Regions from separate parts of the Homo sapiens genome. Here region 1 is linked to region 2. Evidence: promoter capture Hi-C in 16 types of primary human blood cells and fetal thymus (Javierre and others, 2016). All regions are on one chromosome and are shown on one strand. Each heading gives the region's core, a stretch centred on a gene start or on the middle of the fragment in contact. The rest is flanking DNA. Distances are from core to core; before and after follow the strand shown. Region 1 overlaps STAG3 (STAG3 cohesin complex component). Region 2 holds the start of GAL3ST4 (galactose-3-O-sulfotransferase 4).

Region 1 (4,294 bases), core at 1,387-3,886, 34 kb after region 2:
TTAGCTGGGCGTGGTAGCGGGCACCTGTAGTCCCAGCTACTTGGGAGGCTGAGGCAGGAGAATGGCGTGAACCTGGGAGGTGGAGCTTGCAGTGAGCCAAGATCACGCCACTGCACTCCAGCCTGGGTGACAGAGCGAGACTCCGTCTCAAAAAAAAAAAAAAAAAGGAGTTTCATTTCCAGAAAAAAGAAATCTCGTGGGAGCTACTGAGTTCTCTTTTCCTTCTAGGCAGATAAGGTCATGGGGAGGAGGACTGCACACACCCCCTGCACCAGTGTTTCTTTACACCTCCCCCACCCCCAAGTGACTCTCATTCCAGGGCTTAACCTCTAAGGAGCGCAAGACCCAAGCCGATGACAGGGTGAAGTTGACTGAGCACCTCATCCCCCTGCTGCCCCAGCTCCTGGCCAAGGTACCGCTGCCCCTCCACTCTGCATCACACCAAGAGAAGTGAAAGGAAATGGCCTCTGTGGGGGTGGGAGTAGGAATTAGCAATGTGTCAGCTTGTAAGGAGGCCTCCCTGTCAATCATCACAGTTCTCAGCTGATGCAGAGAAGGTCACTCCCCTGCTCCAGCTTCTCAGCTGCTTTGACCTCCACATCTACTGCACTGGGCGCTTGGAGAAGGTAGGGAGATAGATTTCCTATACCTTGCTGCTTGCCTGCCAGGGCCAAAGGGTTCTATTGCCAGTATCTTTTTTTCCTAAGAACTTGGGTTCCAGAAAAATCAGCAAGCCTTTTCTTAGGCATCTTATCCTTGAAGTTTAATGCTTTTAACCCCGTTCCACTTCCCGCCAGAAGAGTGTCCTCCTCCCATCCCCACAGCACACCATCTTCTGCCTTTTCTTCTCAGCACCTGGAGCTGTTCCTGCAGCAACTCCAGGAGGTGGTGGTGAAGCATGCAGAGCCAGCGGTGCTTGAGGCTGGGGCGCATGCCCTCTACCTGCTCTGTAATCCCGAATTCACTTTCTTCAGCCGGGCGGACTTTGCCCGCAGCCAGCTAGTAGATTTGCTGACTGACCGCTTCCAGCAGGAGCTTGAAGAGCTGTTACAGGTAGGAGCTGGGGCTGGACAATGGGACACCCCAAACAAGGGTGGGAGGGGCTGCAAGACGGGGGATGTGGACTGATGAGTTCTGGGGGAAATGCTATTGTGGATCTTCTTTCCTTCTCAGTCGTCCTTCCTAGATGAGGATGAGGTATATAATCTGGCAGCCACTCTGAAACGCCTCTCTGCCTTCTACAAGTGAGTGGCTTTCCTCCTCTTCCCCATCCCGTTTTTACTGGTGTCTGTGGAGTTGGTTCCCTCTGTTCTTTTCCAGTATAACATTCCCCTTTCTCCCCCAAAGCACTCATGACCTGACTCGCTGGGAGCTCTATGAGCCATGTTGCCAACTCCTGCAGAAGGCTGTGGACACAGGAGAGGTTCCTCACCAGGTGAGTGGACAGGCTAGAGATGGGTTGGGGGCTGGGGGGCTAGATTTTAAGGACCTACGTTCTAGGTGGCCACTAGGTGTGTCAAGTCTCAGTGCGTGGAGTGGACAAAGCGAGGAAGATCAGGTGGGTGGGGGTCACCTCTTACATTCCTCTCTTAGAAGGTGGACTCTACTTCCAGGGTCTTCTTGGATTTCCTGGAAGCCAAGGATAATATTGAGGGATTCTAGAAGACGTAGAGTAAATTAGGGAGCGGTGACATTTCTACTTCGTGTAGATGCCTCTGAAGAATGTCCAGAATATCACTCATTTTCCACTGGAAAAGGAATTAGCTCTCCCTTTACTCATTTTCTCTCCTCTTCACTGGTGTGTTTCTGGCTATCTGTCTCTCCCTCTCCTAACCCAAACCTCATTTTTCAAACCCTTTGTTGTTACAGGTTATCCTGCCAGCCTTGACTCTTGTCTATTTTTCCATTCTCTGGACACTAACCCACATTTCTAAATCAGATGCTTCCCAGGTGAGTGTGGGTCTTAGATGGGATAATGGGAACAGAGGAGTCTGTGTCTTCATTCTTCCCCTTCAAGCCACTGTGCCCACAGAAGCAGCTGTCGAGTTTGAGGGACAGAATGGTGGCCTTCTGTGAACTCTGCCAGAGTTGCCTCTCAGATGTGGATACTGAGATCCAGGAGCAGGTGAGTACTGACTCAAGTGGGAGCAACAAGGCGAGTATCCCTGCCCCCATTCCAAGGAGAAATTGACAGTGTCATTTCTACCTTGGGAAACATTCTGTCCTTTTAAACATCCTTTCTTTTCCCCCTACAGGCTTTTGTCTTATTAAGTGATCTACTTCTCATCTTTAGCCCTCAGATGATTGTTGGGGGCCGTGATTTCCTTAGGCCACTTGTCTTTTTTCCTGAAGCTACTCTCCAGTCTGAGCTAGCCAGCTTCCTCATGGACCACGTCTTCATCCAGCCGGGAGACCTGGGCAGTGGTGCAGTGACTCTATACCTGGGGCTCAGTAAGGGCTGGGGCTTGGGTGTAGCTCAGAAATATAGGGCAGGAAGCTTAAGTCTGTGATTCCCTTTTGCCTTCCATGTGAGCCAGGTGATTCCCAGGAGGATCATTTACAGATAGAGCGGCTACACCAGCGGCGCCGCCTCCTAGCCGGGTTCTGCAAGCTGTTGCTTTATGGGGTGCTGGAGATGGATGCAGCCTCAGATGTTTTCAAACACTACAACAAGGTACACCAAGGCCCTACAGAAATAAAAGAGAAGGGAGCAAGTTGAGCACAGCCATGACTTGGAAACATAATAGCACTACAGGTGGGGGATATCCAATGGTTTCAAGCTTAAAGGAGAAGTAGGAGGGAAAGGCACTGGGAGTTCAGAATAAGGGGACAAAGAAAAGAGACTTAATAGTAAATAATTATGGAGAAAAAGCTGTGAAGAAATTCACTGGAGGGGAAATAGCTTATTCTTCCTGTCCAGAAATATTTATTTTTCTCTGACCCCAGTCTATGGAATGGGGTAACATAAGAAGGAAAAAAGAATAAAAGAGGGATCAGTCCTCACAGGATACCTAGATAGGTGCCCCAGTTTCCTCAACCCACCAGTATTGATTTATGCTTATTGAGCACCTGCTGTGTGCCAAGCACCATTCCAGGAGCTAAGGCCACAGCAGTGAACAAAACACACAAGTTCCTATTTGGTGGAGCTTCCATTGTAGTTGGGGAGAGACAAATAGTGAAGGTGTCAGTGCTGTGTGAGAGGGCACTGTCAGGCTTACTTCTCTTCTCCAAGAATTGGGCTTGGGGCAGTGTTTATTTCTTTTCTTTTCTTTTTTTTTTTTTTTCCTGAGACAGATTCTAGCTCTGTCGCCAGGCTAGAATGCAATGGCACTATCTCGGCTCACTGCAACCTCTGCCTCCCGGGGTTCAAGCAGTTCTCCTGCCTCAGCCTCCCAAGTAGCTGGGATTACAGGCATGCGCTGCCACGCCCAGCTAATTTTTATAGTTTTAGTAAAGACAGGGTTTCACCATCGCCAGGATGGTCTTGATCTCCTGACCTTGTGATCCGCCCAACTTGGCCTCCCAAACTGCTGGGATTATAGGCGTGAGCCACCATGCCTGGCCTGTTTCATTATTTGTTTTTTATTTTATTTATTTATTTATTTATTTATTTTTTGAGACGGAATCTCGCTCTGTCGCCCAGGCTGGAGTGCAGTGGCGTGATCTCGGCTCACTACAAGGTCCGGCTCCTGGGTTCACGCCATTCTCCTGCCTCAGCCTCCCGAGTAGCTGGGACTACAGGCACCCACCACCACGCCCGGCTAATTTTTTGTATTTTTAGTAGAGACGGGGTTTCACCGTATTAGCCAGGATGGTCTCGATCTCCTGACCTCGTGATCCACCCGTCTTGGCCTCCCAAAGTGCTGGGATTACAGGTGTGAGCCACTGCACCCGGCCTTATTATTTGTTTACCGAAACTCTGATTTATTTTGGGCTTTGCACCTGTTGATTAGAGATGAAGTCTAGTCTGAATTATTTTATGCTTCAGTTCATGTTTCCTACCTAAGGGAGTTTGGGAGGGAGACATGATTAGGGATGTGAAGGAAGAAACCAAATGGTCTTTTCCACCAGTCAGACATTACCTTCCCCACTCTTTCCCCTCAGTTCTACAATGACTATGGTGACATTATCAAGGAAACATTAACTAGAGCAAGGCAGATTGACCGAAGTCATTGTTCCCGAATCCTGCTGCTGAGCCTCAAGCAGGTGCGCCCTTCTGCCTTGAGGACATGCCAGCCCTGTTGTCCCCAAGTCTCTGTCTACCCTCAGCCACTCAGAATGTAAGATCCTTCAG
Region 2 (4,991 bases), core at 837-3,336:
AGAGGATGTGGAAGGGGAGCTGGGTGCCTCCACCCTGTGGGCGGTAGCCTTTTACCCTAGAGGCCTGGAAGAGCTTTGGGTAGCCAAACTGGTAGCGGGCAGGGAGGGCGAAGCGCAGCCCGTGCTGGTCCCCATAGCGGTGAAGCAGGCTCAGCACAGAGCTGCTCCCGGATTTATGTGTCTTCAGGAACACCAGTCGCTGCCGGGGTGGGCAGGACGGAAGGGCTGGTCGTAGGGATGGGGCCGAGGGCTGTCGGAGCTGTAGCCCAGGTAGCCTGGGAAGAGATGGAGGGGGAGTGTCCTGTTCCTCAGCAGCAAATGGGTAGAAGGGACAGAGGGCATGGAGGCTTCTGAGTCCTCAGGAGTCACCAGCCCCAGGTGGGATGGGGAAGAGCAAGTACGGGGCGTCTAGAAGGAGTTGGGGCAAAGTGGGAACTCACCTCCTCTGGAAGGGCCCTCCCAAGAGCTGGAGTGCAAAGCCAATGGTCATGAAGACTCCCAGAGCCACCCCCAGGCTCCGAGGTCCCCAGAGCCGCAGCGTCCTGGCAGGAGAGAGAGGGCCCATGTGGCACAGGGAAGGGTGAGGTGACAGAGAGATGGAGCCAGGGCCAGGAAGAGGGGCAGAGACAGCTGGAGACAGCCGTGCAGCTGCGGAAGGCACTGGTTGGAGATCGGGGGGTCATTCCCCAGGCCTGCTCACAGTCTTGGTTGAGTCTGCCCCCTGAGTTAGCAGATTTTTGCCTCTGTCAGCGTCTAGAAGGGAAATGAGGGGGGAAGAAGGGAAGTCTAAGGAGAGAGGCAGAGGCAGCCTTCTCTCCTGCTGCAGCTGAGACCTCCTTCAGGGAAGGGGAGTGGCTGGGGATGTTGTCTATACCCAGACTCTCCTAGGTGGCCCCACAACTACTGTCTCTGCTCTATCACTTTCTTATCTCCAGTTCCTCCCGCTCCCCACCTACAGTTGTCCCTGAGCCTTGGGGATTTATAAGGGAAGGAGAGAAAAAGCCCCAGCTCGTGAATGAAACAGCCAGCAAGAGAGAGAGAGATCAGATCAATCAGCTCATTAACACAGTCAGGTCAGACCATGGTCGGGAACCTGGTTTCCTCCAGAGCCCCTCTGGCTGTCACAGATGGGGATAAAGAGCCCTATCCCAGGACCAGGAAGGGAAGCCATACAGTGGGAATGAGGATCAGACAGGACACAGGTGTATGAACCCAGGCAGGAGGAAGGGAGGTTGGACTTCCAGGAGTGGCATTGCAATGGGTAAGAGCCATTGGGTTATAAATTCCCGCGCCTCTTTTTTCTCTGTCTCAGCACGGGGCAGACCCCCATGTATGACAGGGGCTGGGGGAGACGTGTGGCTACTTATAAAGCCCAGATCCCTGGACTTACCCACCATTCCACTTTCCAACCTTATCAGTGCACCCGGAGGAGACTGAAAGGGTGGGGCTGGAGAGGGAGACAGAAAGAGAGAGAGACACACACACACACACACACACACACAGAGAAACAGAGAGAGAGAGACAGAGGGACAGAGAGACTATGACACAAAGATAAGGAGAAAGGCGCAAACACTAACTGCAGAGTTCCTTCTGAAGCCCGAGCTTCCTAATCAACCGGGAGTCCAGCCCCGCCCCTTCAGATTACAACTCGCGATCAGGGACCACGGCCCCTCCAACAAGCCCCGACAGCTCCCTGCTCCGATGAGCCAGGGGTAACCCCAAGCAGAGAGAAGCCACACTTTTACTCCCGGAGACCTGCCCTCTCTGGCATCACTCCCCAATTCCCTCCCTGATCACAGCCCCTGGGGTCTAGCCGCGTCTCCCCTATCCAGAGTTCTTCATTTCCTTCCATCCATCTCTCCCTTCCCATGATTGGAGATCCCAGCCCTCTGTCCCCTCCAGCTTTGGTGACTGCCCAGTTGCCCCCGCTGGGGTTCCATGAACCCCTCATGTCTCCTCCCATAAATTAGAGGGTCCCTCCACTGGTCCTATCCTTGGTTTCACTTCCCACTCACCAGGCCACAAGGGGAGCAGCAAGGGAAATCGGGCCGGGCCCTCCCGCCCATCCCAGCCACCGCCCGACTCTTGGCTCAGCTCAACTTTCCCCAAGAACTTTCTCAGCGCCCAGGCTCCTCCCTCCTCCCTTTGTGCCGCCAGCCCCAGCAGCTGCTGCAGCTTTGATCGCGGTTCTAGGTCTCTCCCTCGCTGCATCTTCCCCTCTTCGGCAGGGCACCCAGACTCCTCTTGGAAGACACCACTTCCGCCCCCGCTTTCACACTTGGGAATCAATCCTACCATTTTCTCTTGGCTTGCCGCAGAACAAAAGATTCATTCAGGCGGTGGAAAGAAAGAAGGAAGGAAGGAGAAAGTGATATTTGAAAGCAGACATTGTCAAGGACGTGGCAAGGTAGCCAGAGACTGACACTCAGAGAACAAGGCCTCCCATCCTGAAGGCAGGGGGCAGTGGTGTGGTCACCTTAATAATGCTTCGTGGCCGGGTGCGGTGGCTCACGCCTGTAATCCCAGCACTTTGGGAGGCTAAGGCTGGTGGATCGCTTGAGGTCAGGAGTTTGCGATCAGCCTGGCCAACATGGTGAAACCCCGTCTCTACTAAAAATACAAAAATTAGCTGACTGTGGTGGCAGGCGCCTGTAATCCCAGCTACTCAGGAGGCTGAGGCAGGAGAATCATTTGAACTGGGGAGGCGGAGGTTGCAGTGAACTGAGATCGCGCCATTGCACTCCAGCCTCGCGACAACAGCGAGACTCTATCTCAAAAAAAAAAAAAAAAAAGCCTCATGTTCAAAGAGCATTTTGCAGGTGACAAGGTGCTTTTTCACACAGATTCTATTTGGTCCCCACAATTCTCCCTGTTGTACAAACGAAGATGCTCAGAGGCCCAGAGGGTGGGCAATTTGGAGATCAGAGGTTATTGTCTAGGCCCGCCTCCTGGGGGACAGGTGCCAAGGGAAGTGAAAAGCCGGCAGAAAATGAGCCAGTCACAGAGGCTCTGAGACCTCTGCTAGGAGCCAGGGCTCAGGCACTGATGGTGACAGCACAGAAGCCACACATGGGGTCCAATACATTACCATTTATTTGCAGAATAAACATGGACTCAAACACTGAAACATGGAGTTTGTGAAGGATGTGGGTGGCAGAGGTCACGAGATGAGCACCCCCCCACCTTGTTTTTTTTAAAATTTGGTTTAAGAAATTGATACTGAAAAAACTCAACAGAACCCAGGCCCATGAAGTCTCACATCCTACTCAAGCACCCTCAGTCCCCTGCCCTGCATCCAGCTGGTCCATTTCTGAGACCAGATGCCCCCACCCCTCCCCACTTCCAACTTCCTTCAAACCCCTTCCCCAGCTGCAACTCTAAACTCCTCATTTTCTCTGTTGGGGCTGATCACCAGCCCCAGCCTTAGAGGGCTAGAGACTATACCTTCTAAGGAAACCACACTCCCTCCTAAATAAATACCCCCAGGCCCCCCTCCCATTACCAAATGAAAAAATAAATATTGTGAACACCCACCCACCTCTGATGAAAATCTCCTGGATTTGGGGCCCCAGCCATTCACCTGCAAAGTCCCTTCTCTACCCTCTCTGCAGCCCCCTTCGACTCCTCCCCAGGCCCAGCTGAGGGGGGAGGAGGGGAAAGGGCCATGAACCCTTCTGATGCTAGGGCACCCCTCCCCCGTTATCGAGGTCCAAGCAGGGCCAGGGCTGAGAGGGAGAGAATGAGGATGGTTTGGGTGTGAAAACCAATAGATGCCCCCCCACTCCTGCTCCGGCCCTGGTTGTAGCGGGCACTGCCACCTCCTCCTTTGCCCCCAGAACCATCCCTTCTAGGAGGGTATGGAGGCCGAGGAGGCCGGGCTGGGGGAGCCACAGCCCCAGCCATCCAGTCATCTGCATACTGCTGTCCCCCTCCAGAGCCGCTGGCATCCTCATCTGCAAGGAAGAAGAGGGACAGAGCAGGATGGGAGGGAGAAGCAGAGGGAGACAGAGGGAGGAAAAGAAATTGAGATAAAAACAGAAAGAGAGAGGAAAGGGAGGGAGACACAGGTGGATGCCGGGTTGGGGAAGGGAGAAAGACCATGAGTGACAGGAAGGCAGGGAGAGAAGGAAGGAGAGAGATCCGACAGCAGACATGGGGGGAGAGATCATGATGGGAGACAGTGAGACAGAGAGAAAAAAAAACAAAACAGGCAGATGGGGAGAGAGGATAACAGGAAAAAACAGAAAAATCAGAAGTACACAGAAGCAGAAAGCAGCCAGGAAGAGGGGTGCGGGAAGAGTGACAAAGAGAGACAGAGACAGACAGATAGAAGGAGAGAAGAAAACAATGAGTGTCTGTGCCTTGCTTCTCTGTTTGGCAAACTCCACCCTGCGGAGCCAGCTCAATGTCACCCACCACCCTGGCTTCCCAGCCTCCCCCAAATTGCCCCCTCCCCCATTTTCCCACTGCCCTTTGCCCATTATAAGGGGCTTCCCACTGTTCTTTAAGAATGTTTTCGTGTCTCCCCTACTGGCCTGAAAGGATACAGACCCCCTCATTGATCTGTTACCCCCAGTCTTTCAGGGCAACGCTCAATAAATGCTCGTTGAATGAATTAGTGAATTAATCAATGAACGCTAAGAGCAGAGGCACGGGCGGGAACTACCAGGAGAGGGGAGAGGCTTCAGGGCAGTGGGCGGGGCTCAGGCTCAGGGATGCAGGGGTCTCACCCGCGTCCTGCCCGTCCAGGTCGTGTCCCAGTGCGGCCGTTTTCATTCTGGCCGTGGCCGCCCGGAGCTGTAGCCGACGCCGCCGTGTCGGGACATCGGGGCCCGAGGCGTCCACCTTGAGCTCGGGGTTGTTGACCTGCTCGGCCGGGGAGCCCCCGACCACTGGCGGCAAGTACCTGCGAGCAGAGCAGCCCCGAAGCGCCAGCTAGCGCGCGCGGCCCCGCCCCTCCCGGCCGCGGTCCCGCCCCCTGCTGCCCCCCG

What was found. The method cuts DNA at HindIII sites, captures the fragments that hold promoters and counts their contacts. A CHiCAGO score of 5 or more calls a contact.
Region 1: a contact is called between a fragment that was not itself captured here and the fragment with the promoter of GAL3ST4 in region 2, in 8 of 17 cell types (total B cells, naive CD4 T cells, non-activated CD4 T cells and 5 more). The highest score is 7.3, in total B cells.

What each region holds. Positions count from the first base shown.
Region 1 is chr7:100,199,917-100,204,210 of GRCh38, forward strand. STAG3 (STAG3 cohesin complex component) reads left to right here. Exons shown (of 34, transcript NM_001282717.2): 17 at 320-412; 18 at 537-626; 19 at 853-1,053; 20 at 1,174-1,244; 21 at 1,348-1,435; 22 at 1,870-1,950; 23 at 2,033-2,125; 24 at 2,256-2,424; 25 at 2,538-2,674; 26 at 4,105-4,206. It also overlaps the pseudogene CASTOR3P. Among named protein-coding and RNA genes, the nearest start is that of PVRIG, 18 kb to the right of the region's middle. RefSeq lists an enhancer at 87-426. The HindIII fragment of the contact is 283 bases long and covers 2,496-2,778 here.
Region 2 is chr7:100,166,531-100,171,521 of GRCh38, forward strand. GAL3ST4 (galactose-3-O-sulfotransferase 4) reads right to left here and starts at 2,087. Exons shown (of 4, transcript NM_024637.5): 1 at 2,016-2,087; 2 at 441-753; 3 at 1-275. The coding sequence starts at 565. It overlaps GPC2 (glypican 2), which reads right to left. Exons shown (of 10, transcript NM_152742.3): 9 at 4,731-4,906; 10 at 3,076-3,953. The coding sequence ends at 3,700. RefSeq lists a silencer at 4,933-4,991. The HindIII fragment of the contact is 24,826 bases long and covers 1-4,991 here.